2 separate regions of the Homo sapiens genome follow, and region 2 is linked to region 1. Evidence: promoter capture Hi-C in human tissues and cell types (Jung and others, 2019). All regions are on one chromosome and are shown on one strand. The core of a region is centred on a gene start or on the middle of the fragment in contact, and the rest is flanking DNA. Distances in the headings are between cores, read along the strand shown.

The links. Contacts are between HindIII fragments. The study calls those that stand out against the background at their distance.
Region 2: the fragment with the promoter of KRT17 here is called in contact with a fragment that was not itself captured in region 1 in 2 of the 25 tissues and cell types used here (H1 embryonic stem cells and mesenchymal stem cells).

Annotation. Positions count from the first base shown.
Region 1 is chr17:41,108,536-41,115,292 of GRCh38, reverse strand. It overlaps LOC124904002 (a long non-coding RNA gene), which reads right to left. Exons shown (of 2, transcript XR_007065754.1): 2 at 2,623-5,289. Among named protein-coding and RNA genes, the nearest start is that of KRTAP4-11, 6.5 kb to the left of the region's middle. The HindIII fragment of the contact is 6,500 bases long and covers 1-5,839 here.
Region 2 is chr17:41,622,759-41,629,107 of GRCh38, reverse strand. It overlaps KRT17 (keratin 17), which reads left to right and starts at 4,533. Exons shown (of 8, transcript NM_000422.3): 1 at 4,533-5,030; 2 at 6,076-6,158. The coding sequence starts at 4,599. It also overlaps the pseudogene KRT42P. The HindIII fragment of the contact is 8,196 bases long and covers 173-6,349 here.

The DNA.
Region 1 (6,757 bases), core at 1,340-3,839:
TGCTGGTATTTTCTTCTGAAGTTTAAATTCTCTAGCTCCAGTTCGCAGGGCTTTACAAAAGCACAGATGAGTTTTCAGTGACTCCAAATTAGGAAAAATGGGGGAAAGAAGAAGAAAAAAAAACTGAAAACAATCTTTTGAAGACCTGTAGCCAAGAAAAATTAGAATTCAGTGGAAACTGTAGAAAATAATAAAAATGGGAAAACATTAGGCAAGACTAGAATCTAACAACAGGTGTATTATCATTTTTTGAAACATAATTCTTCTCTCTCCCATTTCCCATTTTTACTAAAGACAAATCATGGCAGGGCTGATTTTCTTTATTATACTTGACCTGATTATTTGTATACAGCGCAGCCATAGTAATACTTTTTTTTTGCATAAGCTTTTAAATTGCCTTTGATGGAACTGAAGCAGGATGTTTCCCTGACCCCTTTGTGGGACTTGTGACGGGTGCCTCGTTTATTCAGCCTGCCACTCTCAACTCCTTGCAGGAGCGAGCATGCAAGCAAATGAGGCAGGAACTGGAGTGCACGTGTGCTGGAATCGGCACTGCAGCACGGTAGGATCAAACTTCACTCACTGGGACCTGCTGCAGTCCCCTGCTTGTGGGAGGAAGCATGCAGGTGAATCAGTGCAGGAGCCAAAGTGAGTGCTTTTGGCCACCGGCAGGAGCAAACTCTGTGTGGGCCCCACAGCAGCATCTAGGTGGGGGTGCCTGCGACCCCCATAGCCCCAGAGGGCATGTTACAGTGTTCTTTTAACTCTGCCTTCCATGGATGGCTTAAGTGTCAACAGCTCAGTGAGGCCTCTGCCTTTTTGTGTGAGGCAGCTGCCCTCCACCAGCAAGGGCAGAGGGCCAGTGTGACAGTCTTTTGTATCTGCTCTCCTGGCTCCCAAGCTCTTGTCTTGTGTCCAGGAAAAGTGAGGTCACATGAACCAATCAAAGGATGGTAAATGTGGGGGATTTTGTTGCTGATGAAAGTGGCTCTTAGCAGAAAGCGGAGCTGAAAAAGGATGGGGTGGGTAGGTAATCTTCCTCAAAGTTAGGCTGTATCCAGCTGGATTCTTCTCCAAGATTACACCATCAAGCTGTCCCTCTGAATCAAGCTGCTTCTCTCTGACGTCCAGCTGTAGTTCCCAATGTCCAGCTGCTTCTTGCCTCTGCCAGCTGAGTCTGGCATCTTCACAGGCATAGGATGGACAGGATGGAGCCATGAGTGGTTTAGAAAAAGGCAACTTTCAAGCAGGAAAACAGGGATATAAGTTCTCACTTTGGGCCGTGGTTTAAGGCTTTTCAGCTTGAAGGTGGGGTTTTGTCAGAGACCTACCCTTTTCTGCCTAGAATTTCTCAGCCCCCTGTCCCTATCAGAACTTTGTTCCATAGAAGGAATTTCGGATAAGACTTTTGGAAAGCTTAGCCTAGCCATGGATTTGTACCATCAAATACCTATGAGTTGCATGAATTCCTCTGCTCTTGAGGTTCCAAGATAAACTTGGGGCTCCTGGAACTGTTAGAAAGTGACATGCTTTACTTACCACAGGTCAGGAACCCTGTACAGGGACTGTGTAGATAAGGTATGAGGCCAGTTCTCCCAAGGGGCTTTTATTGGCTCCATAAGTCAAATTTGATTCCTTAAAGGAGAGCACACCATTCCAGTCAAAGCCTTGGTAAAATGACCAATTTCTCCAATTGTGTCTTGTTACACATGAAAACAGATTATTATTGCACTTATGCAAATAACTGTATTGCCATAAGTTAAGAATACTCACAGATAGTTTCCAATTCTGGGGAAAATCAGGTAGAGAGAAACAAATATGCTCCAAATATTTTTCACAGGAGTATACTAACTTGTTAAAAGCTGACAACAGCTCAAATAAAAGTTTCCTTGACTAAAAAAAGGAAAACAAGGAGCAGCAACATTTTAAGCAAAAAGTCAAAAAGATTACGTTGCTCTTCTATTAGTTCAGTTCATGCAGTTAATTCCTGTTCTGCTTGCTATTCATGAACATTTCAGGTCTCCATGAGTTCTGAAAGCTTTTCCTCCATTCTGATGTCACAGTCTCCAAAGTTATTAGAAACTTGCCTTCAAGAACACGTGTTAGAGTTTTATAGCTGATTATAAAACCATCTTCTAAAAAGGACTAAAACAAAACAATTGTCCATGGGTGACAAAAAGTTTTAGGTCAGCCATAATCAAAGACACAATTGACAAGAAAATTTGTTACCACTGTGGCACACGATAATTTTATATAACAATTATAATTATTAGTGATATTGTACACCATGTCATATCAGAATTATAGGAGTTTCCCATAATTTTGGTGCACATACCAATAACATTTTTATACAAATACAGCCCAAAGAAAACCAAACACCATTTTATATTTGACAATGCTTCCTGTATAATTTTTATACCAAATAAGTCATTTATTTCATTTTTGGACTTTAGGGAAACTAATATCTTAGAGGATTAATTAGGTCAGAAAAATACACAACTTGTAATTTGATTCTGGAAACTTTGCCAAATATCAAAAGTTTAAAATACTTGATAGGTCATCATAAAATAAGTCAATTTTTCAAACATTAAGCCCAAATAAAACAGCATAAAGCCAATTAAATTTGTTTTTTGAAATTTTATTATCAATCTTTAAAATTTTAATCTTGACCATAAGATACAGCTTCCATAAGCCTTTTTTAACCTTTATAACCTTTATTAAGGGGTCGGTTAACACTTCAAGAAAACCTTTTTAATCTGACGCAGGGGCCCGTATGCTGGTATTGCATCAGTGTGCCTTTGACATCAATTATTAACTTGCAGAGAAACTGAACTTATTTTGTCTCTCAAAATCAGCCCTTACAATCTCACATGCCTACCTCTTCTGTGGTAGTTCCTGAGCCTTGAGGAGTTGAATAGCTTTTACTTCTGGCCTTATGTCTCAGGAATGCAGTTTATTTTGATTGGCATCTTCTACCAGGCCTGAAGATGAGGTTTTAATTGCTGTCAGTGCTTAAGATTTAGCAGACCTTGGTGTCCTTTTTAGACCCAGGAGTCAAAGGCCTGTAACTTAATGTCACAGGTACTTTCAAAGCACCTACAGAAATATACATGGATGTAATAACCTTAATTTTAAAAAATTATCTCAGATACTTTTTCCTGAGCAAATCAAAAATTAATAATAACAGCATAGCATTGTTTCAATAAGCCATAAAATCTGTTAGGTCAATTACCCAAAGGCAAAAGAAAAGACCTTCTACACTGCACAGAATATTACTTTGGAAGAAAACATTTTCTTTAGACTTTTAGAAAACATTGTTAGCATCAGACCATAACAAATAGAATTTAAGGAAAATAACTTATATGAGCTGCAAACGAGTTGAAGGGGAGAGAAAACAGCGAGTAAACAGTTGAACTTTGGGTTAAAAAAATTAAAATCTCTTATAATTTAATAAGAGTAAATCAATCCCTTAAGAAAATTTCATCGCTCTAACTATTTTGTTTATCATTGCTTTTTTTTTTTTACATGAAGCCCAATCTTCAGGAAGACTATTATAATTTCCTTTTAATTACAGACAACTTGACCATATAAAAGTTTGTTGGTTTTTTTTTTAATCCTCTTATTATGACTTTTACAGACTGTTCATGATATGCTTGGACTTTCTGGTTTGTTTTGAACATCCATCTTTCTTAAACAATCATTTTATTTTAGGTCTAAATTTACCATACAAGATCTTTTCTCATATGAAATTATTTCTCTTTAAGCTTCCTTACCAAAAAGAACCCTCTTTATCCTCTTTATTTTTATACCTTTCTTTACATCTCTCTGATTTCCTGGTTCCTTTTAACTTGTCTTATACATAATCTTTAAATAAGCATTGAATTAGATGACAATTGTTCACCTTTTTAAAAAGGAATTGTTTACCTAGATTATTTATGAAAACTGCAATAGTCATCATTTAAAGTTATGGAACTGCCATTGCAAAATTATAACTGAGACAGTGAAAAAGATCTGACCTAATTGACTCCATCTTGCTTCTAACCTCCAAACTGTTCTTGTTCAATCCTGGGCACAGGCTGAACAGACGTTGAGAGGAACATAGTTTATAGTTTACCTTTGAAACAAAGATTATAACAGTTCATTCTCAAACTAAATCTTACTGCCTGTGGACTAGACCACCAAAACCACAAAATTAGAAGTTACAGTAATCTCACTAAATTCAAGATGTGACTATTTTTATTAAACCAATATCAATGTCTTATTTATTAAAGATTATACAAGCAAAGATCATTCTATTACAGTTTTGTAACTCCATGGCAAATTTTGACACCTTATGGTATTTGACAGGGATAAGCATGAAATTGCTTGATTAATAAATGCAAACAAAAATGCATGCTGGCAATTTTTAAGACATGTCTAATATTACTTTACCAATAATTTTAAAGCTAGCTTATTTATTAAAGATTTTACTTGTTACATAAACTTCAGAAAGCATTCAACTAGTCTTTTCTTTTTTCCTGATAAAGTATTAGATTCAAGTGCTTTTTATCTTAAGCCAATTAATTAGAACTCTTTTATATATTTTCAGTAGCGAGAAATTGTGTACACATCACATAAATATATAGACATAGTAGGCATGCTGATAGAAGTACATCGTATAGATACTTAAGGAGCTTTTTTCCCCTATCTTAGGCTTTCAAATTCTTAATAACCTGTTTTACTCCCCTAGGGAGTTGTCAGCTAAATAGCCTTAAGTTTGCATGTTAAAGGAAACAACTCAGGCAAAAATCAAATAGCAAAATTATATCATAAGGTACAGAGAGAAAAAGTCTGGTGGTGCTAGAGGGAAGTCAAAATGGATTTAATTGCCAATTAAACATAAAATTATAAAAATTATAAAGGCCTTTTAAATAGATACACACACACACACACACACACACACAAACACACACACAGAAATCCTATAGCTTTTACTTCAGAACTTTAGCCATGAGACAAATACAAATTCACCAGGTTGCAAACAAAAAGCCTGTTGTATCCAAACAGTGGTTTTGATCTTAATAGAAAAATAACAGCAGATTTAAAGCAGGCAGAAAAGAAAATAGAGAAAAAAGAGAACTTAGGAACTCTGTAGTTTGTAGGTTGACCTTAAGGCTCTTCTTTTCTTTCTTTTTCTTTTCTTTCTTTCTTTCTTTCTTTCTTTCTTTCTTTCTTTCTTTCTTTCTTTCTTTCTTTCTTGCTTGCTTGCTTTCTTGCTTGCTTGCTTTCTTTCCTTCTTTTCTTTCTCTTCTAAAAAAAAATGAAATACACATGCAGGAGAACGTGCAGGTTTGTTACATAGGTATATGTGTGCCTTGGTGGTTTGCTGCACCTATTGACCCATCCTCTAAATTCCCTCCTCTCATTCCCCACCCCCCAACAGCCCCTGATATGTGTTGCTCTCCTCTCTGTGTCCATGTGTTCTCAAAGTTCAACTCCCATATATGAGTGAGAACATGTTGTATTTGGTATTCTGTTTCTGTGTTAGTTTGCTGAGGATGATGGTTTCCAGCTTCATCCATGTCCCTACAAAGGACATGATCTCACTCCGTTTTATGGCTGCATCGTATTCCATGGTGTATATGTACCACATTTTCTTTATCAAGTCTATAATTGATGGGCGTTTGGGTTAGTTCCATGTCTTTGCTCTTGTAAATAGTGCTGCAATAAACATACATGTGCCTGTGTCTTTATAGTAGAATGATTTGTATTCCTTTGGGTATATAACAAGTAATGGGATTGCTGGATCAAATGGTATTTCTGATTCTAGATCCTTGAGGAATCACCATACTGTCTTCCACAATGGTTGAACTAATTTACATGGGCCCTTTCTTTCTTAATGTAAATATGCACAAAGACCATATTACTTCCATTTTACTTAAACTCTGGCAAGTACAGGTGCCATAAAACCTATGGAGTGCTTGAAAGGGAATCATTCTCTTTGCTTTCTCCTCATTCTTAGATTATTTGTTTCCCAGTTTTCTTCTTAAAAAGAGGAACTGAGCTGAGGCCTAGAGGTTTTCTGTGGTGGATCAATATGTGCCATTTGTGGGCAGGACTCCACAGTGGGTCACCACTGAAAACAACAGTTCAGTTCCTCATGCAAATGCACACAGACAAGCTGAATTGAGCTTAATTTGGGGAGAAAAAGCAACAGAGAAGATCCTTTAGAATGCATTTGTGAACTAGAATTAGGATCTTTAAACGACAAATTCCTAGAAGGAAAACAAAACAACAGCCAAGACCACTTTTTGTAAACCTTGCTCAGCCACCCCTTAACTTTGTAGCTCTCATCTACCACTATACACAACAAGGTCAAAGCCAAAGAGGTCAGGTCATGCAATACAGGAAAATAGAGGTTTAGAGTTAAGAAGAATCTACCCATGACTCTTGAAACTCCACAAAGAAAACAAAACACCCCAAAAGGGGTGAGTGGCAACCTTTGTTCTGAATTCTTTAAGGGGGTTCAAGTCATTAGAAGCCTTCTCTAGACTTTTTGGTACTGCATATGGCAAAGGGGGAGGAGGTATATGGTGCAAGAAAAGTAAACGAAAGAACATTCGTGTTTTAAGACAGGAAGCAAACACAGAAACCAAGTGCATGGGTTTTTGGTTCTTTTTGTTTGTTTTCTTCTTTTGCAGCTGCAATGAATTTTAGCCAAATTAGAGAGGTTTTGTTACCCGTAATTTTGAATTCTCACTTGGATTTGACCAAGTCA
Region 2 (6,349 bases), core at 3,284-5,783, 510 kb before region 1:
GCAAGGATGCCGAGGGCTGGTTCTTCAGCATGGTGGGTGGCCGTGCGTAAGCAGGTGTGTACACGTGTGGGCACATGTGCTGCATGCTGGTGCAGCTGGAGCACTGGCAGATCCACAGGCTGTCCCAGTTGGAAGGACTTTTGGAAACCAGTTGGACCAGCCCCTCATGTTTTAGATGTAAAACGTGAGGCTCAGAGAGGACTCAAGCTCACACAGCCCTTCACTGTGGCCTGCAAAATAGATCCAGGTCTCTACAAGTCTGGTCTTGGGTTTCCACCACAGCTGTTTACAGGATGTGCGTATTTGAATACATATGTATACCCTTGGCAAGCACAGGCTGAGTATCTCCGGTATCCTAGGGACAGCAACAGGCGCAAAAGAATAACACCCAGTGCCTGTCTTTGAGGTGCTGCAGTTCAGTAGGAAAAAGAAATGCAAATGACCGCAGAGCAGGCTGAATTCCTCCAAGTTCCAATGTGGGTGCAGAGGCTCTCTGTGTGCAGGTGCCTTTGGGGCCCCATAGAGGCCAGGGAGGGGCTAGGGGATGGTTCTGGGAGGTGAGGGTTCAGGAGCAGCCCTTTCCTGTGCCCCGCTTCTGAAAGTCTCCATAAACCCCTGTGGCCCACTCTGCCTTCCAGAAAGAGGGGCTGAACTGCGAGGTGGCCACCAACACAGAGGCCCTGCAGAGTGGCTGGATAGAGATATGGAGCTCTACGTCTCTGTGCAGAACCTGAGCCGTCCCAGCTCAGCAAGGTAGGGTCTCTGTCCCCTCCCCACCCTGTACCTGTCACCCCAGGGTGAGCCCAGCCTTGTAGACCCCTGCTTGGGGAACCAGAGTCCCCACCCAGCCTGTCCCTTCACACTCAGTGGCTGGGTGCACTACCACCTCATTGTGCTGGCAGCACCCACAGCCCCATACAGGAGGGGCTCCTCTCTAGTGCTCTGCCATGGGGAAGGGTCCCAGGTCCAGCTCATCACACCACCTATCTCTTGGCCCACAGAAAGCATCGCTGGAGGGCAGCCTGGTGGAGATGGAGGTGTGTTACAGGACCCTGCCGGCCCAGCTGCAGGGGCTTAACAGAAGCATGGAGCAGCAGCTGTGCGAGCTCTGCTGCGACACGGAGCACCAGGACCACAAGCACAGGTCCTTCTGGACGTGAAGACGTGGCTGGAGCAGGAGATCGCCACCTACCGCCGCTTGCTGGAGGTTGAGGACGCCCAGTGAGTGTGTACCAGGGTGCCTGTTGGGGTGGGCTGGGGGCCCGCTTCACCCAGGGAGAAGTTGGTGTCTGAGCACCAGCGAAATTCAGGAGGTGTGAATGTCGGAACCTGTTGGGGTTTGCAGGAGGTGATACTGACGATGCAGGCTGGAGTCTGGCTGAGGAGCCTTGAATGCCAAGTTAAAGCGTCTGGACTAGATCACGTAGGCAATGGGGAGCCATGGAGGGATTTGGAGCAGGAGAGTGAAATGAACATCAAGAGATTTTAGAACATTCACTCTGGCTGCAGAGGGAGAAATGGATCAGAGGGGTCAGGGCGGGGCCAGAGAGATGTGTCAGGGGGCTGGAGCAGGGAGTCTGGCCAGAGAAGTCCCGTGCGGTGGTGGGTAGTGGGGCAGGGGAAGGAAGGTGGTGCACGCAGAAGAGAGGTTATAGCTCAAAACAGCGGGACTGGATGCCTGGATCTCGGGGTAAGCATGGCTCACAGTCAGGACTCAGTAAGTGTCGGGAGAACACATGAAGGAGCAGGCATTGATGGCCCTGGGTTTCTGGTTCTGATGACTGTGTGAGTGGTGAAGAGCAAGGTGGGTGGTGGTTGGGTTTGCAGTTGGGAAGGGTGATCAGGCCTTCAGCTGAGAGTGTCCCGGAGTCTCCATGCTTAGTCACACGTTGCAGCTTTTTGCTCCCCGGAAATGGTGAAGTCCATCTATAGTCTAACAACAGTCTCTCCTGCTTTAATTGGGTCTATTTGTTGGGCCCTCTGGGTTATGGAAAAACCACTTGCTCAGCTTCTCCTTGTAAATTCCTGGTGAGTAGCCACAGAGTGCCGCCAGACCTACTGCTGTGCTGTTTCTTTTTCTTCTTCCTGCTGTGCTGAACCCCTGCCCTTTCATTCTTGGGCCTGCGCTAATTTCTGTGCATTCCCAACTGTGATTTTTCACCAATTTAGGGGAACCTCCTCTGCCAGGGCCTACTTCTCCCCAGCAGTGCTTGCAGGTGCCTGGGCTGGCTGGCATCCCTGGGCTGATGGGTGCTTCTCTCCCTGCAGGCTGGCCACTCAGTACTCCTTGTCCCTGGCCTCGCAGCCCACCCGGGAAGGTAAGAAGCTGCCCTGTCCTGCGGTGTGGACCCCAAGGCAGGGGAGAGGCTGAGGACCCTTCTGTGTGGGAGACTGGGGGGACCACAGACGCGGGGGCAGGCGGGGGGAAGAGCTCCTGCCTGATGTTCCCTGTGCCTCCCTCCTCCATCGCCTGCAGCCACAGTGACCAGCCACCAGGTGTGCCATCGTGGAGGAAGTCCAGGTTGGAGAGGTGGTCTTCTTCTGTGAGCAGGTCCACTTCTCCACCCACTGAGACCCCTTTCTGTCTGCGACAGCCCCACCTCGAGGGCCACGGCACAGCCATCAGCTCCAGCTCCCAGCATGCTACTGCCACGCCCCGAGTGTCCGTCTGGGCCCCGGTGCATGGCCTGTTGTCTTTCTGTATCTACTTTCTGCAGCCCCTCACTGAGGAGGCCTCCTGGGTTTGTCCAGTGCCTACTATTAAAGCTTTGCTCCAAGTTCAATGCCTCGTGTGATCTGATCTGCTCATTGGTTTGGGGCAGTGTGGGCTGAGGGACTGGGGGAGGTGGAGTTTATTGAGTGTTTGGGTATGGGCTTGTCACCTGCCAATCTGTTCTGCCCACTCCATCCAGGCCTGGGGCTCCTGGAAAGATGAGAGGGGAGGAGGCGGAAAGATTAAGGGTGGAGGGATGGGACAGCCCCTTGTATTGGGAAAAGTTTCTAAGAATCAGCCCCTGAGTCCCTGTCACCTGTGGCTGGTCCCTGGGAGGGCCACACAGACTTTCCAAGGATGGTGCCTGTTGGGGAGCACTCCCTGCCTCAGCCCAGGGCGGGTTCAAGAGCAGAAGGAGAGGGGCTTGGTGGGGAGGGGCTTCTGAAGGAGTGGTCCATGGCATTGATGAGTGAGAGGGCATGGCAGTGACGCAGCCAGCCCAGGAAACCAGACCGGCTCTGCCCCAGCTCGGGGTGTGTGTGGGGCGGGGTGGCCGCTGTGCGTGTACGCGTAGGGGGCATCCTGTTTGCTTTGGTGGCTTGGCAGCCACTGGGCTATTGAGGAATGTCTCTCGGCTGCTGGCGGGGCCGTCTGGGCCTGTCTGGGAAGTGGAAGCCATCGGCAGTCTGAAACATGACCACATTCCACCCAGCGGGCCTGGCGGGACCCTGGGACCCAGGGCCGGGCTTGGGGTGGTGGGCAGGGCAGGGTGGGGCTGTGGGGTGGGGCACATGGCCCACCTGAGGAGCCACATCTTGGGGAGCCTGGAGTGGGAAGGGGGCTGGCTGGGGTCTCTGTAAGAGCCTCTTCTTGGGCAATGTCCTTTAGGTTTCCTGTGGGCTGAGACCTGAGATAAATACCCGTCACCTGACCCTGAGGTCTCTTGGGGTACAGAAGGGTGAGGGGAGTGGAAGGGGGCATCCCCCTCTCAGTTGGCACAGCCCACCATTTCCCCATCCTATAGCTGAGCCCCTGTTTGCCCACCCCAGCCTGGAGTGTAAACCTGGGGAAAGGTTTACACGAAGAGACTGGGTTAGCAAGGATTTCTAGGGATGGGGCAGGGTCAGAAGCTGACTGGATGGAACTGTAGCCCCTAGAGTGCATTCCTGGGTGTCAGGCTCTGCAGAAGGGGCCAGTGTGGACACGGCACCCCTCTGGAGCCCCAATTTCTTTATCTGTGATGTGGGTTGGTCTCCGAGGCTTGATGGCATTTCTATGCTGTGAGGTGGGCCTGGTGGGTTTGGGCTCAGTTTCCAAGGCAGGATAGGCTCTCGGTCTCCTCTTTCTCTTCAGCACCCAGCCCCGGGGCCAGCACCGTGGGTGGAGCAGTGTGGGGTGAAAGACAGCAACTTTGGCGGGGGGGTCAGCTGACACTGCAACCCATTTCCCCACCAGACAGGGTTGAGGCGGGCCAGGCTGGGGTGGTGGCTGCCTGGGAGGGCCTGGGGACGGTGACGTCCTGCCTTCTCCTCTTCTCCGTATTAGGTCATGGGAAAGCATAGCTGGAGGGCCCGCCTGAATCACAGGTGACGGGCCTGAGACCAGAGGCACGCACACGCACGGCACTCAGCACGAGGATTTGGAGAAATGAGGCAAATTCCTGATGATGGGCGGGGAGGGGGCCCCCAGCCACCTGGGAGCTGGCAGGTGGCCAGTGGTGATGAAAGCCCAGGGGAATGGAAACAGAGGAGCAAGCCTGTTGTAATCGCTACGCCCACTTGGTGGCCTATAAAGGAAGCGGGCGAACCCCGGCAGCCCTACACAACTTGGGGCCCCTCTCCTCTCCAGCCCTTCTCCTGTGTGCCTGCCTCCTGCCGCCGCCACCATGACCACCTCCATCCGCCAGTTCACCTCCTCCAGCTCCATCAAGGGCTCCTCCGGCCTGGGGGGCGGCTCGTCCCGCACCTCCTGCCGGCTGTCTGGCGGCCTGGGTGCCGGCTCCTGCAGGCTGGGATCTGCTGGCGGCCTGGGCAGCACCCTCGGGGGTAGCAGCTACTCCAGCTGCTACAGCTTTGGCTCTGGTGGTGGCTATGGCAGCAGCTTTGGGGGTGTTGATGGGCTGCTGGCTGGAGGTGAGAAGGCCACCATGCAGAACCTCAATGACCGCCTGGCCTCCTACCTGGACAAGGTGCGTGCCCTGGAGGAGGCCAACACTGAGCTGGAGGTGAAGATCCGTGACTGGTACCAGAGGCAGGCCCCGGGGCCCGCCCGTGACTACAGCCAGTACTACAGGACAATTGAGGAGCTGCAGAACAAGGTAGGGCCTGCTGGTGGGAGGGGTCTCCGGGGGGCATGACTTCTTCCCCCCAACTCCTGCCTTGGCCAAAGGCCTGGAGTCCAGCCATAGGGTCTCAGGGAGCCAAGGGTGGTTTGGCTGTGGCTTAGCTTCTGGGAACCTGCCTTGGGGCCCCTGTGTGGCTCACATCCCCCTTTTCTGGGGACAGCAAGCTGAGTCAGGAACAAAGAGGCCTTGTGGAGCCCCTTGGAGCCTCAGTTTCTCCCTCGTGGAGCTCCGCCACCTGGAGAGGTTGTAGGATGAGGCAGGAGGATGCAGATGGAGGGCTGGGCCCGTGGGCTGCTGGATGTGTGGTGTCTTGCTCCTTTGGAGCAGGGGTCAACAGGAGGGGGTTTTGGGTGATGTGGAGTGGGGGTGTCTGAGTGAGCTCCTGATAGCACCTGCTGCAGGAGGAGGCAGAAAGGAGGGGGCGGGACCTCAGTGTGGGGAAGGCCTCTGATGTGCCTTATTTGGGGATTTTTCTGGCTTCTCCTTTCCTCCTGCTGTCCCTTAAGACGGGCTCAGCAAACCCCAGGGGGCGGGGCTGCTGGCTGGCGCCCAGGGTTAGGGATTAGGAGGGGTCCTGACTTTTGATTTGGAACCACTCTTTAATGAGGGCTCCTTTAGCCTCCTTTTGGGGGAGCCTGTCAGGGGCACCCTCTAGCTGACTGTAAAACGAGGGGGTTGCCCACATCCCCTCCCTTGTTCTAGAATTCTGGGACAGCTTCTGCCCTGGGGACATTTTCCCATTCTTTTCTGGTTGCCTCATACTCCCAGCCAGCTGTCTCTTCTCCTTTAAGGCCGAGCCTGCCATGGGGGTCTGGTGGGGTACTGAGTATCGGGGGAAGAAGAGGCACCTTTCAGCCCTTCAGACTCCTGTTTGCCCCTCCTCTGCCAATAATACAGCACGGGGCAAGGGAGGGGCTGGGCGAGAAGAGAGGCCCTGAGGCAGGAAGATCTGCTCAGAACCCTGGTGTGGGCTCAGCCACCCCCATCCAATGACCTGACTACTCTCCCTTCTCCTCAGATCCTCACAGCCACCGTGGACAATGCCAACATCCTGCTACAGATTGACAATGCCCGTCTGGCTGCTGATGACTTCCGCACCAAGTGAGTCCTAGCTGTGGCCTTGGGCAGCCTGGGCCAGCTGGCGGAGGATCTCAGGGTACCCCTCCTGACCCCAGGATTCCTTGGTTGCTTGTGGCAAGGCCCAGGAGCTCAGGGTGGGGCAGTCCTAGGAGCCCCACTCCTTAGTCCAGGATGCAGTGAAGGCAGCCAGTTCTGAAGGTTGCTGAGCTTAG